Regions from separate parts of the Homo sapiens genome. Here all the other regions are linked to region 3. Evidence: promoter capture Hi-C in human tissues and cell types (Jung and others, 2019). All regions are on one chromosome and are shown on one strand. Each heading gives the region's core, a stretch centred on a gene start or on the middle of the fragment in contact. The rest is flanking DNA. Distances are from core to core; before and after follow the strand shown. Region 1 overlaps RNF213 (ring finger protein 213). Region 2 overlaps SLC26A11 (solute carrier family 26 member 11). Region 3 holds the start of GAA (alpha glucosidase).

What was found. The method cuts DNA at HindIII sites, captures the fragments that hold promoters and counts their contacts. A contact is called where the count stands out against the background at its distance.
Region 1: a fragment that was not itself captured here is called in contact with the fragment with the promoter of GAA in region 3 in 2 of the 25 tissues and cell types used here (IMR-90 fibroblasts and lymphoblastoid cells).
Region 2: a fragment that was not itself captured here is called in contact with the fragment with the promoter of GAA in region 3 in 1 of the 25 tissues and cell types used here (spleen).

What each region holds. Positions count from the first base shown.
Region 1 is chr17:80,334,998-80,338,767 of GRCh38, forward strand. It overlaps RNF213 (ring finger protein 213), which reads left to right. Exons shown (of 68, transcript NM_001256071.3): 23 at 1,164-1,381; 24 at 2,589-2,729; 25 at 2,836-3,000. Among named protein-coding and RNA genes, the nearest start is that of RNF213, 76 kb to the left of the region's middle. The HindIII fragment of the contact is 5,157 bases long and covers 1-3,770 here.
Region 2 is chr17:80,244,407-80,247,984 of GRCh38, forward strand. SLC26A11 (solute carrier family 26 member 11) reads left to right here. Exons shown (of 18, transcript NM_001166347.2): 11 at 790-850; 12 at 1,748-1,803; 13 at 2,103-2,243. Among named protein-coding and RNA genes, the nearest start is that of RNF213, 15 kb to the right of the region's middle. The HindIII fragment of the contact is 7,646 bases long and covers 1-3,578 here.
Region 3 is chr17:80,099,715-80,102,830 of GRCh38, forward strand. It overlaps GAA (alpha glucosidase), which reads left to right and starts at 1,867. Exons shown (of 20, transcript NM_000152.5): 1 at 1,867-2,176. CCDC40 (coiled-coil domain 40 molecular ruler complex subunit) reads left to right here. Exons shown (of 20, transcript NM_017950.4): 20 at 1-899. The coding sequence ends at 61. RefSeq lists a silencer at 1,414-2,033 and an enhancer at 2,364-2,473. The HindIII fragment of the contact is 18,678 bases long and covers 1-3,116 here.

The DNA.
Region 1 (3,770 bases), core at 1,154-3,653, 240 kb after region 3:
TGCAACCTCCACCTCCTGGATTCAAGCGATTTTCCTGTCTCAGTCTCCTGAGTAGCTGGGATTACAGGCGCCCGCCACCACACCCAGCTACTTTTTTGTATTTTTAGTAGAGATGGGGTTTCACCGTGTTGGCCAGGCTGGTCTTGAACTCCTGACCTCAGGTGATCCACCCATCTCAGCCTCCCAAAGTGCAGGCGTGAGCAAGTACAGGCGTGAGCCACCGCGCCTGGCCCCACAGAGAGATTTTTCTCACTTCTCCATTGATGCTGTGCGTTTCTTGGCAGCCTCTTCAGTTCTGTGGCTTAGATGTCGTTGGCAGAGGAGAGAGGAAGAGGCAGAGGAGGCAGGAGGGGCACAGGTGGCAGTGCAGGTGTGCTCGGGGGTCTGGGGGCCACCACCTGCTGGATCTCAGGCTCTGGCTCTCTTGGGAGAGCCGCTGCTTTCAGTGGTGGACTCTCTGGTCCACACTGATGCACATCCTTCAGTGAGTAATTTATCTGAGGGGAATGATCTGAGTGTTTCATAGTTAATTGTGAACATGTTATTTACAGCTGAGCCTTGGTTTCTTTTTGTTTAAATGGTAATGTTGTGTGGATTGAAGGAAAGAGCATACACAGAAGTGCAGTACAGTGCCTGGGACATTGAAATTGCTCAGGAACGGCAAGATATCGTTTAGTGCTATTAACAGACAGTACAGGCTGGGCGTGGTGGCTCACACCTGTAATCTCAGCACTTTGGGAGGCCAAGTCGTGTGGATCACCTGAGGTCAGGAGTTGGAGACCAGCCTGACCAACATGGTGAAACCTGGTCTCTACTAAAAATACAAAAAATTAGCCAGGCGTGGTGGTGGGCGCCAGTAATCCCAGCTACACGGGAGGCTGAGGCAAGAGAATCACTTAAACCTGGAAGGTGGAGGTTGCAGTGAGCCGAGATCATGTCACTTCACTCCAGCTTGGGTGACAGAGTGAGACTCTGTCTCAAAAAAAAAAAAAAAAACTACAAAAGATTAGGTGTTCCGGACTCTTACTGAAAGCAGAAAGTGGACAGAACCTTAAAAATTCATGAAATATCCATTTCAGCTTCAGTAAGGATTACTGCCCAAGACCGAGTCTTGTGCTATCGTGGAATAGTCCCACGCTGAACTCCCCTCTTCTCTTCCCCAGGCATCAATGAGCTGAAGGTGTTTGTGGACCTGGCCTCCATCTCAGCGGGGGAGAATGACATTGATGTGGACCGGGTGGCCTGCTTCCATGACGCTGTGCAGGGCTACGCATCCCTGCTATTTAAGCTGGACCCCAGCGTGGACTTCAGTGCATTCATGAAGCATCTGAAAAAGCTGTGGAAGGCTCTGGATAAGGACCAGTACCTGCCCAGGAAACTGGTGAGTCTTATTCTGTCTCTAATGCAGATTTTGTTGAATAGAGCATTGCTTAGCAACGTTAGGGCAGTGACTGTGGAAATGGTGGCACACCTGTGTGGTAGGTTTGTACACAGCCGTTTTCAATGATATTTAAAAAGCTTTTCTTCATAAATGGAAATTCACCATCTTGTTACCTAGAAAGCAGGATACAAAATTACATGACACATAGTAATCTCTAAGGTGCAAAACACACGTGGAAAAAAGACAGAAGGGAAATATGCTGAAACGTTGCCAGGAGTTTTCTCTGAATGGTTGTAATTGTCATTTTATTCTGTTACTTTTTGTTATTTTCTATAATTGATAGAATTTTTTATCAGAAAAAAGTAAACATTTAAAATTAGCCAGGCATGGTGGTGTGCGCCTGTAATCCCAGCTACTCTGGAGGCTGAGACAGAATTGCTTGAACCCGGGAGGCAGAGATAGCAGTGAACTGAGATCACACCACTGTACTCCAGCCTGAGTGACAAAGTGAGACTCTGTCTCAAAAAAAAGAAAAGAAAAGAAAAAAGTAAACATTTAAGTTTAAGTAAACTACCTGTAGCAGGGTCTGAATTGACGTACGCAGCTTAACTAGATACCTGGGCCAGCCTCCGGACGGCTGCTCTGCATGTGGGTGGAGGAAGAAGTGACATATGGAAGGGCAGGTAAAGCTATCTTCATTTTTCTGCTAGAAAGTCAGCAGAGTTTCCAAACAAAACCCTCTGTTGTGATTTTTCCTAAACTTCTCTTATTGTACTTGGGGACCACAGAAGGACACTGAGGACTTGGGACTCCACAGCCATTGCTTCCAGCGTCACCCCCAGAGGGTTCTCTGCATTGGGGACCTGGCAGAATGATGGCGTCTGGTAGAGAGGCAGGCGGGCGGCTGCTCATTCCCCTCCACTCCTCCACAGATGTAAGTCAAGTGCCCCCATGTGCCAGCCGGGGCACCAGGCACTGGAGGAAACGTGGAACAGCGAGTACAAAGCAGCACTGAGTGACAGATCATGTTGTCAGGGTGGCACCTGGTCCAGCTGGGGCGCTGGGTGGGCGACTGCGTCCTGAGCCCTGGGGAAGCGTGGGGAGAAGGCTCTGCAGCGAGGCAGAGGCGGGAGGCCGACCACAGGAGGGAGAAGGGCAAGATCCTCGCTCCAACCGTGGCCCGTGTTCTCTCCTTTTGTCCCCATAGTGTGACTCCGCCAGGAACTTGGAATGGCTGAAGACTGTGAATGAGAGTCATGGGTCTGTGGAACGCTCATCCCTGACCCTGGCCACGGCCATCAACCAAAGAGGCATCTATGTGATCCAGGCGCCCAAAGGTGGCCAAAAGGTGAGCGGTCCCCAGCCCTCGGCGCAGCTGCGGCCCTTCTGCAGGCTGCTGCCAGTCCAGGTCTTCTGGCCCCAAGAAAGTGACTTCTAACCTATGCTCTTCACAGATTTCCCCAGACACGGTTCTGCACTTGATCCTTCCTGAGAGCCCTGGCAGCCACGAGGAGTCACGAGAGTACTCTTTAGAGGAGGTGAAGGAGCTTTTGAACAAGTTGATGCTGATGTCTGGCAAGAAGGATCGTAACAACACGGAAGTGGAGAGGTTTTCAGAGGTGAGGGCGCATCTTTGCAGTGGCGCTAAGCTGGTGGTGTCATCTCGTCCGTGAGGGCTGTGTACTCCCAAGAAAACGGAAAGGATTTGACTTGGGATTTGACTGATAAGAAGGGCTCTGCTCTTAGGCCCATGGAGAGTAGAGTTGGCACATTTGTAGGGTGCATGGAACTCTAGTCCGCGGCCCCAGAGAGGTCTTAAGGCAGGCAGGCCCCTGGGTTAGCAGTCCCTCCTTACGATCCGTAGGATGAACGCTGAAGCTGGCAGCCTGTCCACCGCACTGAGAAGGAGGTTGGTCACCCAGCAAATAGCCCTTAGAAAGACACTTGAATTGCCTCTCTCACTCTGTAAATCAGCAAGAATCCAAATAACTAAGATTTAGATGGACAAAACAGAAGTAATCATATTGAGAATGGTGTACCGGTCTAAGTAATAGTCTCTCAATTTTATTATAGGTTCTTTCTCTAAAGTTGATTTGTACTTTACAAATGGTATCCTTTATCTCTGCTGGGTGCAGTGGCTCACACCTGTAAAGCCAGCACTTTGGGAGCCCAAGGTGGAAGGCTCATTTTAGCCCAGGAGTTCATGACCAGCCTGGGCAACATAGCGAGACCCTGTCTCAAAAAGTATAAGGTTTTTTTTTTTCCCAATTAAAAAAAAAAGATAATTTAAAAAAATTAAAACAGTCCAGGCATCATGGTTCACACTTTGGGAGGCCGAGGCGGGCCTATCACTTGAGGTCAGGTGTTTGAGACCAGCCTGGCGATATGG
Region 2 (3,578 bases), core at 1,076-3,575, 150 kb after region 3:
CCTCCCGAGTACCTAGGGTTTGTCTTACGGGCACTTTATCTCAGCTCTCACCCCCTCCTGGGTGGTGAGATGCTCCCCTCTGTTCTGCGTGGGGAAGGCGTGTCCTGGTCACACAGGAGAGGCTGGGTGAGAAGTGTTTGAAAGCTAGGATCTTGCCAGGCATGGTGGCTCACTCCTGTGATCCCAGCACTTTGGGAGGCTGAGGCGGATGGGTCACCTGAGGTCAGGCATTTGAGACCAGCCTGGCCAGCATGGCAAAACCCTGTCTCTACTAAAAATAGAAAAATTAACTGGGTGTGGTGGCACATGCCTGTAGTCCCAGCACTTTGGGAGGTCGAAGCGGGTGGATCACTGAGGTCAGGAGTTTGAGACCAGCCTGGCCAACATGGCAAAACTCTGTCTGTACTAAAAATACAGAAATTAGCCAGGCGTGGTAGTGTGTGCCTGTAATCCCAGCTACTCAGGAGGCTGAGGCAGGAGAATCGCTTGAACTGGGAGGCGGAGGCTGCAGTGAGCTGAGATCGCGCCACTGCATTCCAGCCTGGGCAACAAAGCCAGACTCTGTCTCAAAAAAAAAAAAAAAAAAAAAAAGGCTAGGCTTTACGTCTGCAAGAATGTGGCCTGTTTTCTTCCTTCCCTGAAGGAGTGCGTAGGCCCAGGCCCCCAGGATGATTCTCCCGAGCCCTGCCTTCCTGCCTCCCTTCTGGGTTTTTGTCCCCCTCCCCATCTCCTTTCCCTCCATCCTGTGTGCCTTCCCTCCACGATCAGCCTGTCTTGCCTCCTCCCCAGGTCTCACCAACATGTTGGGCTCCCTCGTCTCCTCCTACCCGGTCACAGGCAGCTTTGGACGGTGAGTGACCTGTCCGCCTCTTCTGTTTGCCCACGTTGGACGCCCTAACGTTGTTACGCTGACAAGGAGTCTGCCTGCCCTGACCCCGGCGCCCCGTCCTCCACTGTGAACGCTCCGTGGAGAGGCAGGGCTGGGGGTCACCCACTGTCCTCCAGGGTGTTCTCTGTTTCTTTATTCTCATAGATCGTCCTGCAGTTTCATACTAGAAAGTTCCACTGGGCATTGTGGTACACCCTTGTTATCCCATTTACTCTGGAGGCGGAAGCAGGAGAATCGCTTGAGCCCAGCAGGATGAGGCTGCAGTGAGTTGTGACCGCACCGCTGCACTCCAGCCTGGGCAACAGAGCGAGACCCTGTCTCTAAAATAAATACTAGAAAGTTCCCAGCACGCCAAAGCCCTCCTAGCTCCTGGTGCCAGAGTCAATTCCTGAAAGGACGTGGAGATAGGAAGGGCCTCGGCTCTGTCCTGAAGCAGCCGGGCATGAAGCTTAGCCCAGATGCCCTACGGCCCCTCCTCAGTCAGGACAACAGGATGGAGGTGACCTGTGGCTTAAAGGAGAGAAGGAGGCGTCACCTGGCACTGCCCAGTCCCCCAGCTGGTGACCCTTGCCCTGCTGGGTATGGGGGCCCCACCTGGATGGGGGCAGGAGACAGAGTCGGCAGGAACCTGAAAGGACACGTGCTTCCTGAGCTTCTTCCTATAGTCAGGGTGGCCCAAGCGCGGCTGTCTGTGACTGCACCCTAAGTCTCTTTGCCTCGGTCCCCTTGCAGTCCCCGCCTGCTTCCCAAGCCGTGCTGGGAGCTGACGTCCCCTCGGAAGATCAGCCACAGGAGTGTGGACTGAGGTCTCCCTTTTCCCGGCCCCTGGTGACTGACGGTCTCTGTGTTGCCTTCCAGGACAGCCGTGAACGCTCAGTCGGGGGTGTGCACCCCGGCGGGGGGCCTGGTGACGGGTAAGGCCCCCCATCTTCCCCTTGTGCCCGCAGCCCTGAGAGTGGGAGAAAGGGAGGAGGGGGCCCACAGAGACGTCCCTTTGGCTCATGGGCCGTGCGCCCCGGGACTGCACAGGGACTTGGGGGGCCACACAGGAGTAGGGGGACCACAGGAGACTGAGCAGGGGCTGGGGGCCTTGGCAGTCGTCGCCCTACCCCCACCCCTGTCCCCAGTGGGCTCTGCTGAACAAGAGGCTGCTACGCTGCGTGCTGGGGGGACCCTGCACTCCCGAGGTCACCTGTGTTCCCGTGCCCCGCAGGAGTGCTGGTGCTGCTGTCTCTGGACTACCTGACCTCACTGTTCTACTACATCCCCAAGTCTGCCCTGGCTGCCGTCATCATCATGGCCGTGGCCCCGCTGTTCGACACCAAGATCTTCAGGACGCTCTGGCGTGTTAAGAGTACGTCCTTGTCCTACAGGGGAGAGCGCTGTGATGCGGTGTCTGAACGCGGAGGGTGTCATTTATGCTACCCCATTTTCCTGCAGCCCCCTCTGTGGGGCTGGGACTGGGAAGTTAGGGCAGTCCCGGAACAGAGAAGTGGATGGCCAGGAGATGGCCCCAGAGATGGTCCCGAGGCTCAGTGGGAAGAGCTGGAGCTCCTTGTCCTGACACCTGGGGTCTTGAGGCGAGCACTGACCCGGGGGAGGGTCCCCTCCTGATCCCCCTGCCCCCATCCCTACCCTCCTTGCCACCCGCCTCCAGCCACCACTCTGCCCGGCCCAGCTGGGGGAGGGACAGGAGACGTCCCTGGTGACCAGCAGGGCCAGCGGAACAGCCTTGCACCCTGGCTCAGAATGGCAGTTCCTTTTTTTTTTTTTATTATTATTTTTATTTTTTTTTATTGATCATTCTTGGGTGTTTCTTGCAGAGGGGGATTTGGCAGGGTCATAGGACAATATGGGGTTGGGGGTAAGGTCACAGATAACAGGATCCCAAGGCAGAGGAATTTTTCTTAGTGCAGAACAAAATGAAAAGTCTCCCATGTCTACTTCTTTCTACACAGACACGGCAACCATCCGATTTCTCAATCTTTTCCCCACCTTTCCCCCCTTTCTATTCCACAAAACCGCCATTGTCATCATGGCGCGTTCTCAATGAGCTGTTGGGTACACCTCCCAGACGGGGTGGTGGCCGGGCAGAGGGGCTCCTCACTTCCCAGTAGGGGCGGCCGGGCAGAGGCGCCCCTCACCTCCCGGACGGGAGCAGTTCCTTTAACTTAACACATTTTGTTTTGTTTGTGGAAGAAGCATGGAGTGGGTTCACCTAGCTTACTTGGCATTTTCTGGTTAGCCCCAGCAAGTTGCCAGGTGAAAGGATGGATAATTTTCTTGCATGCCCGTCGCATGCCAGGGCCTTTCGCGTGCCAGTGCGCTGGGGCTTTAGAACAGCCCTGAAACGTGTTCATGTGCCGGCGTGGAATGGGATGGCCGCTGCTGCTAGAAACCAAGGCTCAGCCAGGGTGGGGCAGGCCTGACCTATGCGTGCGGTGGAATCCCCCACAGGGCTAAGCCCGTGCACTTTGTCCCCAGGGCACCTTCTCCTTGGCCAGGTCTCAAGGGCTCACGTGGTCCCTGCCCCACTCCTCAGGCCAGCTCTGTGCCCTGACAAGCCCCTGCTGCTGCCCTCCCTGAGGTTGGAGGCCAGGGACCGGCCGGCAGGTCTCACCTGCGCTCAGCTCAGATGGGGAGGGCATTTCTTTCTTTCGACTTGAAGCATGGCCTGGTCAGCAGCTGC
Region 3 (3,116 bases), core at 617-3,116:
GGCCCTGCACAAGGTCAGCCAGATGATCGCCAACAAGCTCGAGTCACCAGGGCCCTCCTAGGGAGCAGCCTGGACTCCGCCTTGCAAGGCCTCCAGGAAGAGATCCGGAATTGTGTTTGTCATGAGGGACTTGGAATCTTTTGTGTTCCTAAAAACCACATGTACCCTCAGAAGGGCATCGTTTAAGAGAAATAAGCCAGCCCCACCCATAGGAATCTTTTTAGCCACTCAGCAATTTAATAAACCAGGTAAAATCCTAGCGTTTCCCATGGCATCCCATCGCAAAGACAGAGCCTGTGACTGCAGACCCACACACCCACACTCCCACACTGGGCTTACTCGTCCAGGTAACACTTTGGTTTGCAGCACTCCCAAATCTGCACGTGCCTCTCACAACACAACGCTGCCACAGGTCCACAAGCTGGTGGGCTGAGCAGAGGTGGGAAAGTTAAGGCAGCTCCAGCCAGCCTGGCCCGGGAGGCTGGTCCCCCCAGCACTTCCCTCTACTAGGTGCATCTGAAAACCCACAAACCACCTTCTTTACCAGTTTTCCCATCCCCACCCCTTAGAACTCTCAGGTCCCTTTTCCTGCCCCCATGTCCCCATTTGAGTTAAATTCAGATCCACAGCTTGCAGGAGAAAGTCAGTGGCCCCAGACACACGTAACAGGGTGAGCACTGAAATAAGAGCACGCTGGGGCGTCCACACCAAGGGACTACGCCCCAGTCTGCCCACCTATCTTTTCTCCATCATTAACCCAGCGCTCTTTCTCCCTGGACTTCCAAGTACCAATGACCTTGGGGCTTCTTTGCAGTTTAAAGGGAAAATGCTCTACAAAATAATTTCACTTTCAAACATTTCAGCAGAAGAATAAAATCTTTTTTCTGAATATCTAGTAAGCCTTTCTGAGTCAGCCTTACTTATTTTAAAACATTGTAGAAATACAGAAACCACAACAGAGGTGGAAGGGAGGCTTTTGTTTTTTTTTTTTTGAGACGGAGTCTCGCTCTGTCGCCCAGGCTGGAGTGCAGTGGCGCGGTCTCGGCTCGCTGCAAGCTGGAAAGGGGGCTTTTAATGCCCCTATGCCCCTACCCAGGAACAACACCTCTGTGTTTTGGTGTGGCTCCTTTTGTATTTTTCTGCACATACATTTTATTAGGCAAGTTAAGGTTATACTGTGTGTTTTTTGTATCTCACATGTAAAAATGTGCTCCTCTTAATGTAAGCATTTTCTCATTTTATGAAAAAATTCCCCCTGTGTCAGTTTAATGTTTTCTCAATTGTCAGTTTTATGGGTTATCACAATGTTTTGATTATTCCTTTCTGGAATAACTGTGAGTTATGGAGCACACTTAAGGACTTTCCAAATGTTGGCTGTTTCTAACTTGGCGCTGAGCGCCTTTGGCCGCCTTTCCGATGATGCCCTCGGGACGCGTTGGCAGGAGGAATCCCTGGGCGCAAGGCGCGGCTGGGCCAGCCCCTTACAAAGCCCTACGAGCTGCGGGGACCCAGGCCGGGGCAGCGGGGGCCACGCCCCATCTCCGACCCCACGGGGACCGGGCCGGGACTGCGCCAGCGGGGGCCTCGCCCCGTCTCTGACCCCAGAGGAACCGGCAGCGGGCAGCACGCGTGGGCCTCTCCCCGCGGGACGCCGGACGCGCAGCCAGACGCGCTCCCCAGGCCCCCTCCGAGAGCGAGGACGCGCCCAGGCCCGCTCTGCCGGAGCCGCCACTGGGGGGCGTAGCGCGGACGCGCACCCTTGCCTCGGGCGCCTGCGCGGGAGGCCGCGTCACGTGACCCACCGCGGCCCCGCCCCGCGACGAGCTCCCGCCGGTCACGTGACCCGCCTCTGCGCGCCCCCGGGCACGACCCCGGAGTCTCCGCGGGCGGCCAGGGCGCGCGTGCGCGGAGGTGAGCCGGGCCGGGGCTGCGGGGCTTCCCTGAGCGCGGGCCGGGTCGGTGGGGCGGTCGGCTGCCCGCGCGGCCTCTCAGTTGGGAAAGCTGAGGTTGTCGCCGGGGCCGCGGGTGGAGGTCGGGGATGAGGCAGCAGGTAGGACAGTGACCTCGGTGACGCGAAGGACCCCGGCCACCTCTAGGTTCTCCTCGTCCGCCCGTTGTTCAGCGAGGGAGGCTCTGCGCGTGCCGCAGCTGACGGGGAAACTGAGGCACGGAGCGGGTGAGACACCTGACGTCTGCCCCGCGCTGCCGGCGGTAACATCCCAGAAGCGGGTTTGAACGTGCCTAGCCGTGCCCCCAGCCTCTTCCCCTGAGCGGAGCTTGAGCCCCAGACCTCTAGTCCTCCCGGTCTTTATCTGAGTTCAGCTTAGAGATGAACGGGGAGCCGCCCTCCTGTGCTGGGCTTGGGGCTGGAGGCTGCATCTTCCCGTTTCTAGGGTTTCCTTTCCCCTTTTGATCGACGCAGTGCTCAGTCCTGGCCGGGACCCGAGCCACCTCTCCTGCTCCTGCAGGACGCACATGGCTGGGTCTGAATCCCTGGGGTGAGGAGCACCGTGGCCTGAGAGGGGGCCCCTGGGCCAGCTCTGAAATCTGAATGTCTCAATCACAAAGACCCCCTTAGGCCAGGCCAGGGGTGACTGTCTCTGGTCTTTGTCCCTGGTTGCTGGCACATAGCACCCGAAACCCTTGGAAACCGAGTGATGAGAGAGCCTTTTGCTCATGAGGTGACTGATGACCGGGGACACCAGGTGGCTTCAGGATGGAAGCAGATGGCCAGAAAGACCAAGGCCTGATGACGGGTTGGGATGGAAAAGGGGTGAGGGGCTGGAGATTGAGTGAATCACCAGTGGCTTAGTCAACCATGCCTGCACAATGGAACCCCGTAAGAAACCACAGGGATCAGAGGGCTTCCCGCCGGGTTGTGGAACACACCAAGGCACTGGAGGGTGGTGCGAGCAGAGAGCACAGCATCACTGCCCCCACCTCACACCAGGCCCTACGCATCTCTTCCATACGGCTGTCTGAGTTTTATCCTTTGTAATAAACCAGCAACTGTAAGAAACGCACTTTCCTGAGTTCTGTGACCCTGAAGAGGGAGTCCTGGGAACCTCTGAATTTATAACTAGTTGATCGAAAGTACAAGTGACAACCTGGGATTT